Regions from separate parts of the Homo sapiens genome. Here all the other regions are linked to region 2. Evidence: promoter capture Hi-C in 16 types of primary human blood cells and fetal thymus (Javierre and others, 2016). All regions are on one chromosome and are shown on one strand. The core of a region is centred on a gene start or on the middle of the fragment in contact, and the rest is flanking DNA. Distances in the headings are between cores, read along the strand shown. Region 1 overlaps MIR646HG (MIR646 host gene). Region 2 holds the start of CDH26 (cadherin 26). Region 3 overlaps MIR646HG (MIR646 host gene). Region 4 overlaps MIR646HG (MIR646 host gene).

Region 1 (2,877 bases), core at 252-2,751, 320 kb before region 2:
GACCACAGAAGGCATGACCAGTCCCACTGAAAATGGTCCCTTCCATTTGGTTTGCAATTTTTGAGCAGGTGATCCCTCCTTCCATGTTTCAACAAGTACATTATCTCCTGGCCTGATTTTGGGTTGCTGGTTAGTTCCTGGTGTCGGCAGTCTTTGAGTTCCAAACTTTTGTATAGCCTGCTGAAATTGTCCTAGGCTAACTAAGTATTTTATTAGCCTGGCCATTTCTGGATCAGTAATAAATCATTAGTTTAATATGGCCTTCCATATAACATTTCATGTAGGTTCATATTAATTTTTGCTCTAGGGGAACTATGGATCCTTAAGAGGGCTATGGGCAGATAAGCTGACCCAAGTTTGTGATGTTTCCTGACATAGCTTAGCTAAAACCTGTTTTAGAGTTTGATTAGCTCTTTCCACTTTTCTGGAGGATTGAGGTCTCCATGATGAATGTAAATGGTATTTGATTCCGAGAGCCTTAGCAACCCCTTGAGCTTTCTAGGAGACAAAAGACAGGCTGTTATCACTTTGGCAGCTTTAGGGTACCCCATACTGAGGGATTATTTCCTTTAAGAGAATCTTTATAACTTCATTAGCCTTCTCTGTTCCGGTAAGGTAAGTTTCAACCCAGCCAATAAATAATAAAGGTGTCTACTAGTACTAGCAAAAACTTGTATCCTTTGCAAGCTAGCATATGGGTGAAGTATAATTACCAGTTTTCCTTTTTAACTTTAGCCAATATGTTCACACACAGAATCTCTTTTATAATTAATTTTTAATAAACCTTACACAACTTGTTCAAGCCTCTAGATTTTTCCTATCTCACTTAAAACAATCCTTTAACAAAACTTAGGCAAAAATCCACATTCTCATGACTTTTATCAAATGTATATTCTACTTTTCCTACACAAGTCCTCTTCATGACTTACACAGACCATCTATGACATGCTTGGACTCTCTGACTTGTCCTAAACATCCCTTGTTTTAAACAACCAGGCATTTTACTTTAGGACAAGCATTTACCATACAAGATCCTTTCTCATACAAAGTTATTGTCTCTACAACCTTTCCTACCAAAAACACATCTTCATACACATAATGTTCTTCACATCTCTCTCCCCTATTTACTGGTTCCTTCCTACCTTTTTTAATAAATAACCCCTTTTTAAAGTCCATAATTTGCAGCCAAAAGACACATGAAAAAATGCTCATCATCACTGGCCATCGGAGAAATGCAAATCAAAACCACAATGAGATACCATCTCACACCAGTTAGAATGGCAATCATTAAAAAGTCAGGAAACAACAGGTGCTGGAGAGGATGTGGAGAAATAGGAACACTTTTACACTGTTGGTGGGACTGTAAACTAGTTCAACCATTGTGGAAGTCAGTGTGGCGATTCCTCAGGGATCTAGAACTAGAAATACCATTTGACCCAGCCATCCCATTACTGGGTATATACCCAGAGGACTATAAATCATGCTGCTATAAAGACACATGCACATGTATGTTTATTGCGGCACTATTCACAATAGCAAAGACTTGGAACCAACCCAAATGTCCAACAATGATTGATAGACTGGATTAAGAAAATGTGGCACATATACACCATGGAATACTATGCAGCCATAAAAAATGATGAGTTCATGTCCTTTGTAGGGACATGGATGAAATTGGAAATCATCATTCTCAGTAAACTATCGCAAGGACTAAAAGCCAAACACCGCATGTTCTCATTCATAGATGGGAATTGAACAATGAGAACACATGGACACGGGAAGGGGAACATCACACTCTGGGGACTGTTGTGGGGTGGGGGGAGGGGGGAGAGATAGCATTAAGAGATGTACCTAATGCTAAATGACGAGTTAATGGGTGCAGCACACCAGCATGGCACATGTATACATATGTAACTAACCGGCGCATTGTGCACATGTACCCTAAAACTTAAAGTATAATAATAATTTTAAAAAAAATAAATAAATAAATAAAATAAAATAAAGTCCATAATTTGAATTAACTTTCAGATAACTTCTAAATTACACAAAATTATTTTTTCTCTCACTAATAACACATCTTTTGGCACATTTTGAATATAGAATTATGTGCTAACTAGAATTCTAATCCTTGGTAACCTTAAATTTTAGTGAAACCCTAAAAAGCAAAAATCCTGAACTATCAAATATAAGCATTTTATAAATGAGAACGATTCCACACTTTTAGAAATATATTTCCCCTTATGTAGACCAGCACTGTTTCTCTAATGTTCAGCTCAGGAATCAGGCATCACAGATTCTCAAAAAGCATTTACTCAGAAAGTAAGGGCATGTCTGTACCCACCTACCCACCTGCTCACTGAAAAAAATTTAAAACACCTTTTTTGACATCAGATTTATCTCTATTCTGGAATCCAGGCTTCCACAAACTTCTTGTCCTGCCTGGGGTTTTCTCTCCCCTGGAAATCTTTTATGAGGTCAGGAAAGGCACAGGGAGGTTCTGAAGTTGGGAGCGCCAGTTCGACATGTGACTAACATTGTCCCATGAAGCATTTTGGGGGCTTACAAGGCCTGCAGATTCTTAGACAGTGAATCTGTGACTTGTGGTCTATTTCACAGGGTCATCAACTAAATCAAACAGAAATGAAGTGTAAATTGCTGGGCAATAATGCCTTCCGGGGGAAGTGCTTCTTACACAGTGCCTGGCACAGGGTTGGTCTCAATGTGTGTTTCCAGACCTCCCTCATTTCCTCTGAACATCCAGATAAACCAGAAAGCATGCCTTCAGTTTCCTCCCAACTAAAGGTGAAATGTAGCCCCGTGGTGCTGAGGGTTCTGACGGCTGGTCTTCCCTCTGCCTGCCATGTCACCTTGACTCTT
Region 2 (2,702 bases), core at 10-2,509:
AAGCCTGTCATCCTAACACTTTGGGAGGCTGAGGCAGGCAGATCACTTGAGGTCAGGAGTTTGAGACCAGCCTGGCCAACATGGTGAAACCCTGTCTCTAATAAAAATACAAAAACTAGCCGGGCATGGTGGCGTGCACCTGTAGTCCCAGTACTCGGGAGGCTGAGCCAGGAGGTTGCTTGAACCCAGTAGGAGGAGGTTGCGGTGCACTGAGATGTCACCACGCACTGTAGCCTGGATGACGAGACCCTGTCTCAAAAAAAAAAAAAAATTGTGTGTGTTGGCTGGGTGAGGTGGCTCATGCCTGTAAACCCAACACTTCGGAAGGGCAAGGCGAATAAATCACTTGAGCTTAGGAGTTCGAGACCAGCCTGGGCAACATGGTGAAAATCCATCTCTATAAAAAATACAGAAATTAGCCAGCGTGGTGGTAAGTTACTGTAGTCCCAGCTACTCTTGAGGCTGAGGTGGAAGGATCACCTGAGCCTGGGAGGTTAAAGCTGCAGTGAGCCTTGATCATGCCACTGCACTCCAGCCTGGATGATGAAGCCAGACCCTGTCTCAACAAAAGGAGAAAGAAACAAAGAAAGAAAACACGTGTGTGTTGATGTAATCTCACTAAAAATAGTGTGAACTATATAAATTAGTTTTAAACAGGTCCCTTAGCCTGCTCCCACTGTTGCCCCAAACAGACTGGGACCCTTAACTTCCCTTTATATAAATCCAGAGCCCCTGCTACCTAAGCCATTCTCAAGACAGCCAGCCCTGGGTCCCAGCAGGTCACACTCAGTCCCTCTCCCCTCCCTTAGCCTAGAAGGGGCAGGGCCAGCTTGTGCTTTGCTTTCAGTTCCCTGCACCTGAGCACTAGGCTGCAGGCTCAGCTTACCTGCAGCAGCCACAGCAGCAGCACTAGAAGCAGCAGCAGCGAGGGGTGCCTCCCGGATCTCATGGCCATATGGGAATACCCAAGACAGACCCAGAACGTGCAGCTGATGACCAGTCCTCCAAGCTGGTGGTCTCACCGGAGCCACACACCTCCTTCTCAGCCAGCAGCTTCTTCTCTAAAGGTTTTCAGGTCACTTTGGCCCAGATGCTTTCATCCCATCTTGCTCCTCCCTTTTCAGCTTTTCTTGCATTTATCAGAGTGGGGTGGGCTGACTTGTAAGCTTGAACATACGTTTGCCACAAGTAGAGTTCCTAGGAAGGGTGGGGTAGAAACTAAAGCCACCATGGTCCTGCACGTACACAAAAGACTGGCTGGGGTCTGACCTCAGGAACAACAGCTCAGCCAGCGGAAGTAAAACCAGCACCTATCGGAAAGCAGAATTATTTGTTTCTTTGTTTCCTTGTTTGTTCTGGTTTCCAAATAGAAGGTCCAATCATCTCTTTCTATAGCAGGATATGTTAGTGACTATTTTCTATAATCTTATCCTCTTGAACCAAACAAAAAAAACTAGAAAATGACAAGAATGATAACTTTATTAAGGGGGAAGGGATGGGGAAGAATGAAAGAAAAGAAAAATCAACTTTTACTTTCCAAAGCACTAAAAATCGTTATTCCAACAATATCCCAGGGCTCTGGGGTTTTCAAATTATTTCTACTAAAACCTTTTTTAAGCTTAGATTAATCTGCCTTTTTGAGTTTGGAATTAAAGTGGGAGGGAGGAGAGATGGGAAAGAGCCTCCCTATGGACAGGGATCTCTGTGGCAACCCGGGAGTCTTTGCATGAGAATTCTGAAAGAGACAATTTGAGATTATATTATACCAATACTTAAGGTTGCAGTAAGCAAGTTTTAAAACACAATCTGTGATACATTAACCCTGATTACCTTAACATGACCTTTTTATCACATTACCTTGTTTAAAGTAGTAAACAGATAAAATAAAAGGTAAACTTTCTTTGCTTGTTCTAGATATTGGCTTAGGCAAGGATTTCATGACCAAGAACCAAAAAGCAAATGCAATAAAATCAAAGATAAATAGCTGGGACCTAATTAAACTAAAGAGCTTTTGCACTGCAAAAGGAACAGTCAGCAGAGTAAACAGACAACCCACAGAGTGGGAGAAAATCTTCACAATCTATACATCTGACAAAGGATTAATATCCAGAATCCACAATGAACTCCAACAAATCAGTAAGAAAAAAACAATCCCATCAAAAAGTGGGATAAGGACATGAATAGACAATTCTCAAAAGAAGATATACAAATGGTCAACAAGCATATGAAAAAATGCTCAACATCACCAATGATCAGCAAAACGCAAATCAAAACCGCAGTGCGATACCACCTTACTCCTGCAAGAATGACCATAATCAAAAAATCAAAAAACAGTAGACGTTGGTGTGGATGTGACAATCAGGGAACACTTCTACACTGCTGGGGGGAATATAACATAGTACAGCTGCTATGGAAAACAGTGTGGAGATTCCTTAAAGAACAAAAGTAGAACTACCATTTGATCCAGCAATCCCACTACTGGGTATCTTCCCAGAGGAAAAGAAGTCATTATTCGAAAAAGATACTTGCACATGCACGTTTATAGCAGCAAAATTCACAATTGCAAAATCGTGGAACCAACCCAAATGCCCATCAATCAACTAGTGGATAAAGAAAATGTGTATATGCGTATCTATATGTATATATACACATATATGCGTGTATATATGTGTATGTACATATATACACATATATGTGTGTAT
Region 3 (2,870 bases), core at 326-2,825, 280 kb before region 2:
TATGGCCTTTTTTGTCTGGCTTCTTTCTTTTAGCATGATGTTTTAAGGTTCACCCATGTTGTAGTAGGTATCAGGACTTTATTCCTTTTTATCACCAGATAATAATATCCCATATATAGTAAGTACGGATATACTACATTTTGTTTATCCATTCATCAGTTCATGTGTGTTTGGGTTGTTTCCACTTTTGCATTATTATGAATAATGTTGCTGTGAATATTCTATGGGTTAAATTTGATTAAACATAGTGAGAGCTTGGATCTGCAGGAAAACATTCATTCTACAGTAGAAGGGCAGCATGGTCAAGCCATGGCCTCAGAAGACTGCAGATCGGCGGATCTCAGAGAGACTTTATCTATCAGCAACACAACTTGAAAGGATGTCTGCGCTGAGACTTACCATGTGTAGGTGGCTGTGTGCTGGATTCTGCAAGGATTATCTCATTTGATTCCCCCGTAACAATTTCTTCATTTTACAGATGGAAAAACTGAGGCTTTCTCAAGGTCACACAGGAGGAAGGGGTGGAGATCAGATTTAAATCCACATTAGTAGGACTCCAAAGACCATATTCTTAGCTGGGACAACGTAGAGATGCTGGGGCAGGGACCACCCACAGGGGAAATGTGGACCCCGGCACACATCTGCACTGTTTGTCTCTTGACTGTTTCCTGTCCTCTTTGCTGCTGAGTCACCCATCGCCAAATCCCAGCCCACTGCTGAAAACTGGCTTGAAAGGCAGGGGTTTAATTATTCCACAAGATAGTCTCCCCGAACCAAATCTCGTTAATAAAAGACGAGAAATAAATTTTAATAAAGGACTTGCCGAGATGCCTCTGCAGCAGCACCTACTGTCAAAAACTTTTCTCCCCCTTGAACAAAAAGGATCGTTCTCAGCAGGGCAAAATAATCTCCACTCCTTTATGGCAAGTCTACCGACTGCTGGTGTGGAAGGAGCCCCGGCTTCAGGTTTGTATTTACATGTGCTGCTGTTTCACTCTTCCTTGGAGAAAAATGCACATCTCCCTGGCATATTCAAAATATGCCATTAATTACTGAACATCGTCTTGGTTTGGAAAGGAAAAAGAAAGCATATAATTGGAGACTCCCTTTCACTCCAAAGATGTTTGGAGGGACATGGGAGGAAGTCACTGGAGTGTGACTGGTTGTCACCCCTGAGCCGGCTGGTGACAGCAGATGTAAGCACTGCACAGCAGAGAGCATCCTCCTTGGAAGGCAGCTCGCTCAGCGGAAACGCTGCCATGGCTCAGGGCAGACCAGGGCTTGGCATTGATGATGTCGCTTTGTTTTATTGCATGGTCTGAAAATCTGCCTCTGGATTGTGGAACCAAATTGCACGGCCCAAAAGGCACAGGTCCAGCAGGCAATACAGGAGCCTGCTCTGCTCTGACAGAAGCTGTGGCAAAGCAAATCTTCCTAAGCCAAGCAGTTCAAAAAGGTGCCAGGGTCTTCCCTGCTCACAAGTCTTCAAGAGGCTTGCTTTGCACATGTCATCTCTCTGCAGTTTCGCAGTTTCCATTCAAGTTTACTTAGGTTTGTTCCCTACGTCTCTGCCCAACAGAACAAGAGGACTCGGTCAGATCCCCCCAACTCTGATCAGAGGTGAGCCAGGACAGGACGTCATGTTTTCTTGCTGCTGCCAGGTTCAGAGAGCAGGGGCGGTGCTGTGACTGCAGCCCCGCATGGTGGGCAGTCCTCGAACGAGGCGCTCCTTTCGTGTAGCTGCCATGCCTGCTCTGTGTTTTGCATTTTGTTAGGAGTCTGTGATGTGTGCTGCACCCTGCGAAGCCAGGGGCTTGAAGATATCACTGCAGAGTGCTTAGGAAGAGAGAGAAAAGAGAGTTGACAGAGTCCTCGTCAGTTCTGAACAATGCTGTAAAGCAGCATGGGCTCCAAGCAGCTCAGATAAATTGGAAATCAGGTCCTTCCTCCAAGACAACAACCTGCCACATCCTTCATTGTTAGACTGTGATGCTGGGCTGTGTGATCAGCCTTAAGTCGTGGCAAGGATGCAGGTGGCTATGAATTGAAGCCTAGATCTGTCCAGACCAAATGCAAGACGGGACAACCACCCTCAGGCTTTCCCTCCAGACCCCGCTGTCATTGCTACAGCACCCTGATTTCTCTGAGGACATTTGGGGGTTCTCATTAGGGCGACCCACTTGTCCTGGTTTGCCTGAGACTTTCCTGGGTTTAACATTTGAAGTCCTGCATCCTTGGAAATGCCTCAGTCCCAGGCAAGCCGGAGCCATAGTTCACCACATTTGCCTTTGCAACCCTTACTGGCCAATTCCCAATATATTTTTGTTCATTCCTGTAAGACTCACCCTCTGAATATTTAGTGAGCACCCACTGTGCACCAGGCACTGTTCCAGGTGCTGAAGATGCTGTCAAAGCAGGCAAAGCCCCTGCTCACACAGGAAACAGACAGCGCCACTGAATCAAAGCACCACCAGCACGCTGTATGGTAACAAAGGCTGGGGATCAAATACAACTGCGCACAGGAGAGACAGAGTCCCCAGGTGGGGTAAAACCATGTTAAATGTCCAGCAACAGCCTCGGCAATGAGTTGGTATTAAAACAAAATCAAGAAGAAAGGGAGAGGTGGGGCCTTGTGGTCATGCAGGGGCGGAGTGGCGTGTGCCTGGAGTCCTGGAGGAAGACAGAGAGGCCAGGCACGTCTGGAGCAGAGAGGATGTGGGGAGGATTGATAGAGAGGAAGGGCAGAGCAGTGCAGAATCATCGTTGTCCACCCAGGCTGCACCATAGCCTGGGTGGCTCATAACCAACAGAAAGTCATTTCTCCCAGGCTGCAAGCTGGCCACGCACTATCAGAGCTGTGGCAGAAGCAG
Region 4 (2,700 bases), core at 102-2,601, 260 kb before region 2:
CATACAGAACTTCTGGTTGCTCCATGTCCTTTTCAACTTGTCCTTCTTTATAGCCACTGATGGAGATGCAGTAGTATGGCCTGGTTTTGATGTGTATTTCCTAGATGACTAAAGTGGTTAAGCACCACCATTCCATGTTTATTGGACAACTGAGCATCTTCTTTCGCGATGTGACCGTTCAACTCTTTTACTGATTTTTCTATAGGGTTTTCAGTCTTTTTCTTATTAATTTCCAGAAGTATCTGGCAGCCCCTAAAACTGAATATGTACATGCCCTGTGACCTGTCAACTCCACTCTTCAGTATATACTCAACAGAAATGCATTCACATATTCATGAAAAGACATGCACACAAATGTTCTCAGCAGTGCAATTTATAATCCCCAGCCTGTAGATGCCCCGAAGGCCCCTCCCCAGTGGCATGGAAGATTCAGTGGCCGCACAGTCAGATAATGAATACCATCCACGCTGAGAGTGAATGGGCTGCAAGTGCACAGAGCATGAATGAATCTCACGAACGTAATGTACAGTGAAAGAAGCCAGGCACATAAATAGCACATACAGGATGACTCCATTGTATCAAGTTCAACAAACCAGACAAAACTAATCTACGGTTCCAAAGTCAGGATAGTGGCTAACTAGGGGGAAGAGGAGAAGAAGGAGAGGGCGTGGCTCCCGTCCTGCAGCTTGGCTTAGGTGCTGGCTACATCCACATGGATTGCTCACTTTGTGAAAAGTCGTTGAGATGTAAACTTTTGACGTGCACTTTTCTGCATGTGAGTTATACGTGAACAAAACATATAAAACTGTAAAGTTGAGTAAACATATAAAACTGTAAAGTTTGTCCCAGGCTTTCAGAAGGAACGTGCACATAGGGTGGGGAGCCACTCCAGAGCCACTGGGAGTAATTAGGAGCCATAAGAAGTGGAAACGCACAGTGTGAACACTCTGAATCATCTCCTCCATATGCATCACCAAAGCACGTCAGCCACAGCGAGGAGGTCATCAACCGCAGGTCATTTTTCCCTCTCCTTCCAGGGGCATTTGGCAATGTTGAAGACATTTTCGGTTATCCCAACTGGGGGTTGCTACTAGCATCTAGTGGGTAGTAGTGGTTAGGAGTGTTGCTAAACATCTTAATTGGCACAGGACAGCCCCTCTCAACAAAGAGTCATCCTTCCCAAGTCGTCAGTAGTGCTGAGTTGGGAAACCCTTATCTGGTCCAGCATTCGTGTTTTACTGATGGGGAAACTGGCCAGAGATGGATGCCCAAGATCCTGTGACCAAGGAGCTGCAGCCACCATGCCTGAGCCAGCGTTCCTGGCCTGTGTCCCTGACCTCCCTGGTGCAGGAGTTTCTTGTTGGCCCTGTTACCTGGACCCAATCTTCAGACTTAAGGTGTCCAAATGATAAGCTGTAAAACACTGCGTCCCATCGACTCCCCTGGGAAATCAGGGACATCCTGCCTAATTAAAAAATAGGACAATGACATTTTTAAGAGCGTAGAAGTGCCCTGTTTTGTTGTTATTGCTTTAGATTTCATAGGGAACTTGTAAGGAAAATATTATCAGCCAGAAAACATCACAAGAAACTCTTGGTGTTAATGCACTGTGCCAGGCTGACACGGTTACATAAAATACTCAAGAAGTGGAACATTTCATGGGTGGTATGGACAGGTCCAGAGTCATTTTTATTCATCATATAGTTATGTTTTCCAAGGGCAGGAAAGGGAGGGGAATACCTTTCTTTGAAGCTATTTACCATCTTTCACCTAGAAGATCATGTTTTGAAGCTGTGAAGCCTAAACACATCATTACAAAGTTTCAGCAAGCTGCTTTCTGAAAATAGTTGTCATAGTACTGGTTAATCTGTACATTCAAATAGAATGAAGCCTCCAATGTGGACTATTTTTATCCAAGCCGTCATGGCAGATGGATTCATATGCCAGCCAGACATGTTCCGAGTCGCAATGAAGTTCCAACCTGTTGTTTTCCCCAGACTTCTGCCTCCCCAGCTTGAAACATCGGCACTTAAGTGTATGCAGCAATCTCCCAATATTAACATGTATATCAAACCCAAACAATTGGCTGAGCCTTTCATGCATGCCAGGCTATATGCTGGGCACTGGGTTTGGGGAGGAAGACAGTGAGATACAAAGAAGCTGGTGCACCCAGGCTCCAAACTCTCAACAATCTTGAAGACCGAGGAGTAAAAACACACACATACACCGGTGGAACAGGGCAGAGAACACAGAAATAACTCCATGCGCTCAGAGCTAAGTGGCCTTTCAAAAAGGTACTGAGAACACCCACTGGGGAAAGAACAGTCTCTTTAATACACGGTACCAGAAAAACTGGCTAGTCACATGCAGCATGAAATTGGACCCCTATCTGTCACCCTATACAAAAATCACCCAAAATGGATTAAAGATTTAGGTGTTGTAAGACCCAAAACCATAGACTACTAGAAGAAAACATCCACGAAATGCTTGATGACATTGGCCTGAGCAAGGATTTTTTTGGATTAGAGCTCACAGCACAGGAAACAAAACCAAAGGCAGGCAAATGGGATTACATCCAACTAAAAAGCTCTGTACAACAAAAGAAACGATCAACAGAATGGAGAGACAGCCTATGCATGTGAGAAAATATTTGCAAACTATGTATCTGATAAGAAGCTAATATCCAAAATATCTAATAAG

Evidence for each region. The method cuts DNA at HindIII sites, captures the fragments that hold promoters and counts their contacts. A CHiCAGO score of 5 or more calls a contact.
Region 1: a fragment that was not itself captured here is called in contact with the fragment with the promoter of CDH26 in region 2 in 1 of 17 cell types (neutrophils); the score reaches 6.6 in neutrophils.
Region 3: a contact is called between a fragment that was not itself captured here and the fragment with the promoter of CDH26 in region 2, in 1 of 17 cell types (neutrophils). The highest score is 5.5, in neutrophils.
Region 4: a fragment that was not itself captured here is called in contact with the fragment with the promoter of CDH26 in region 2 in 1 of 17 cell types (monocytes); the score reaches 5.3 in monocytes.

What each region holds. Positions count from the first base shown.
Region 1 is chr20:60,281,562-60,284,438 of GRCh38, reverse strand. All of the region lies in intron 3 of MIR646HG (MIR646 host gene), which reads right to left. All of the region lies in intron 1 of LOC105372698 (a long non-coding RNA gene), which reads right to left. Among named protein-coding and RNA genes, the nearest start is that of MIR646, 25 kb to the left of the region's middle. The HindIII fragment of the contact is 6,357 bases long and covers 1-2,877 here.
Region 2 is chr20:59,956,980-59,959,681 of GRCh38, reverse strand. It overlaps CDH26 (cadherin 26), which reads right to left and starts at 1,259. Exons shown (of 18, transcript NM_177980.4): 1 at 887-1,259. The coding sequence starts at 955. The HindIII fragment of the contact is 452 bases long and covers 1,169-1,620 here.
Region 3 is chr20:60,239,005-60,241,874 of GRCh38, reverse strand. The region is part of intron 3 of MIR646HG (MIR646 host gene); the gene reads right to left. Among named protein-coding and RNA genes, the nearest start is that of MIR646, 68 kb to the left of the region's middle. The HindIII fragment of the contact is 5,944 bases long and covers 1-2,870 here.
Region 4 is chr20:60,218,686-60,221,385 of GRCh38, reverse strand. The region is part of intron 3 of MIR646HG (MIR646 host gene); the gene reads right to left. Among named protein-coding and RNA genes, the nearest start is that of MIR646HG, 82 kb to the right of the region's middle. The HindIII fragment of the contact is 5,114 bases long and covers 1-2,700 here.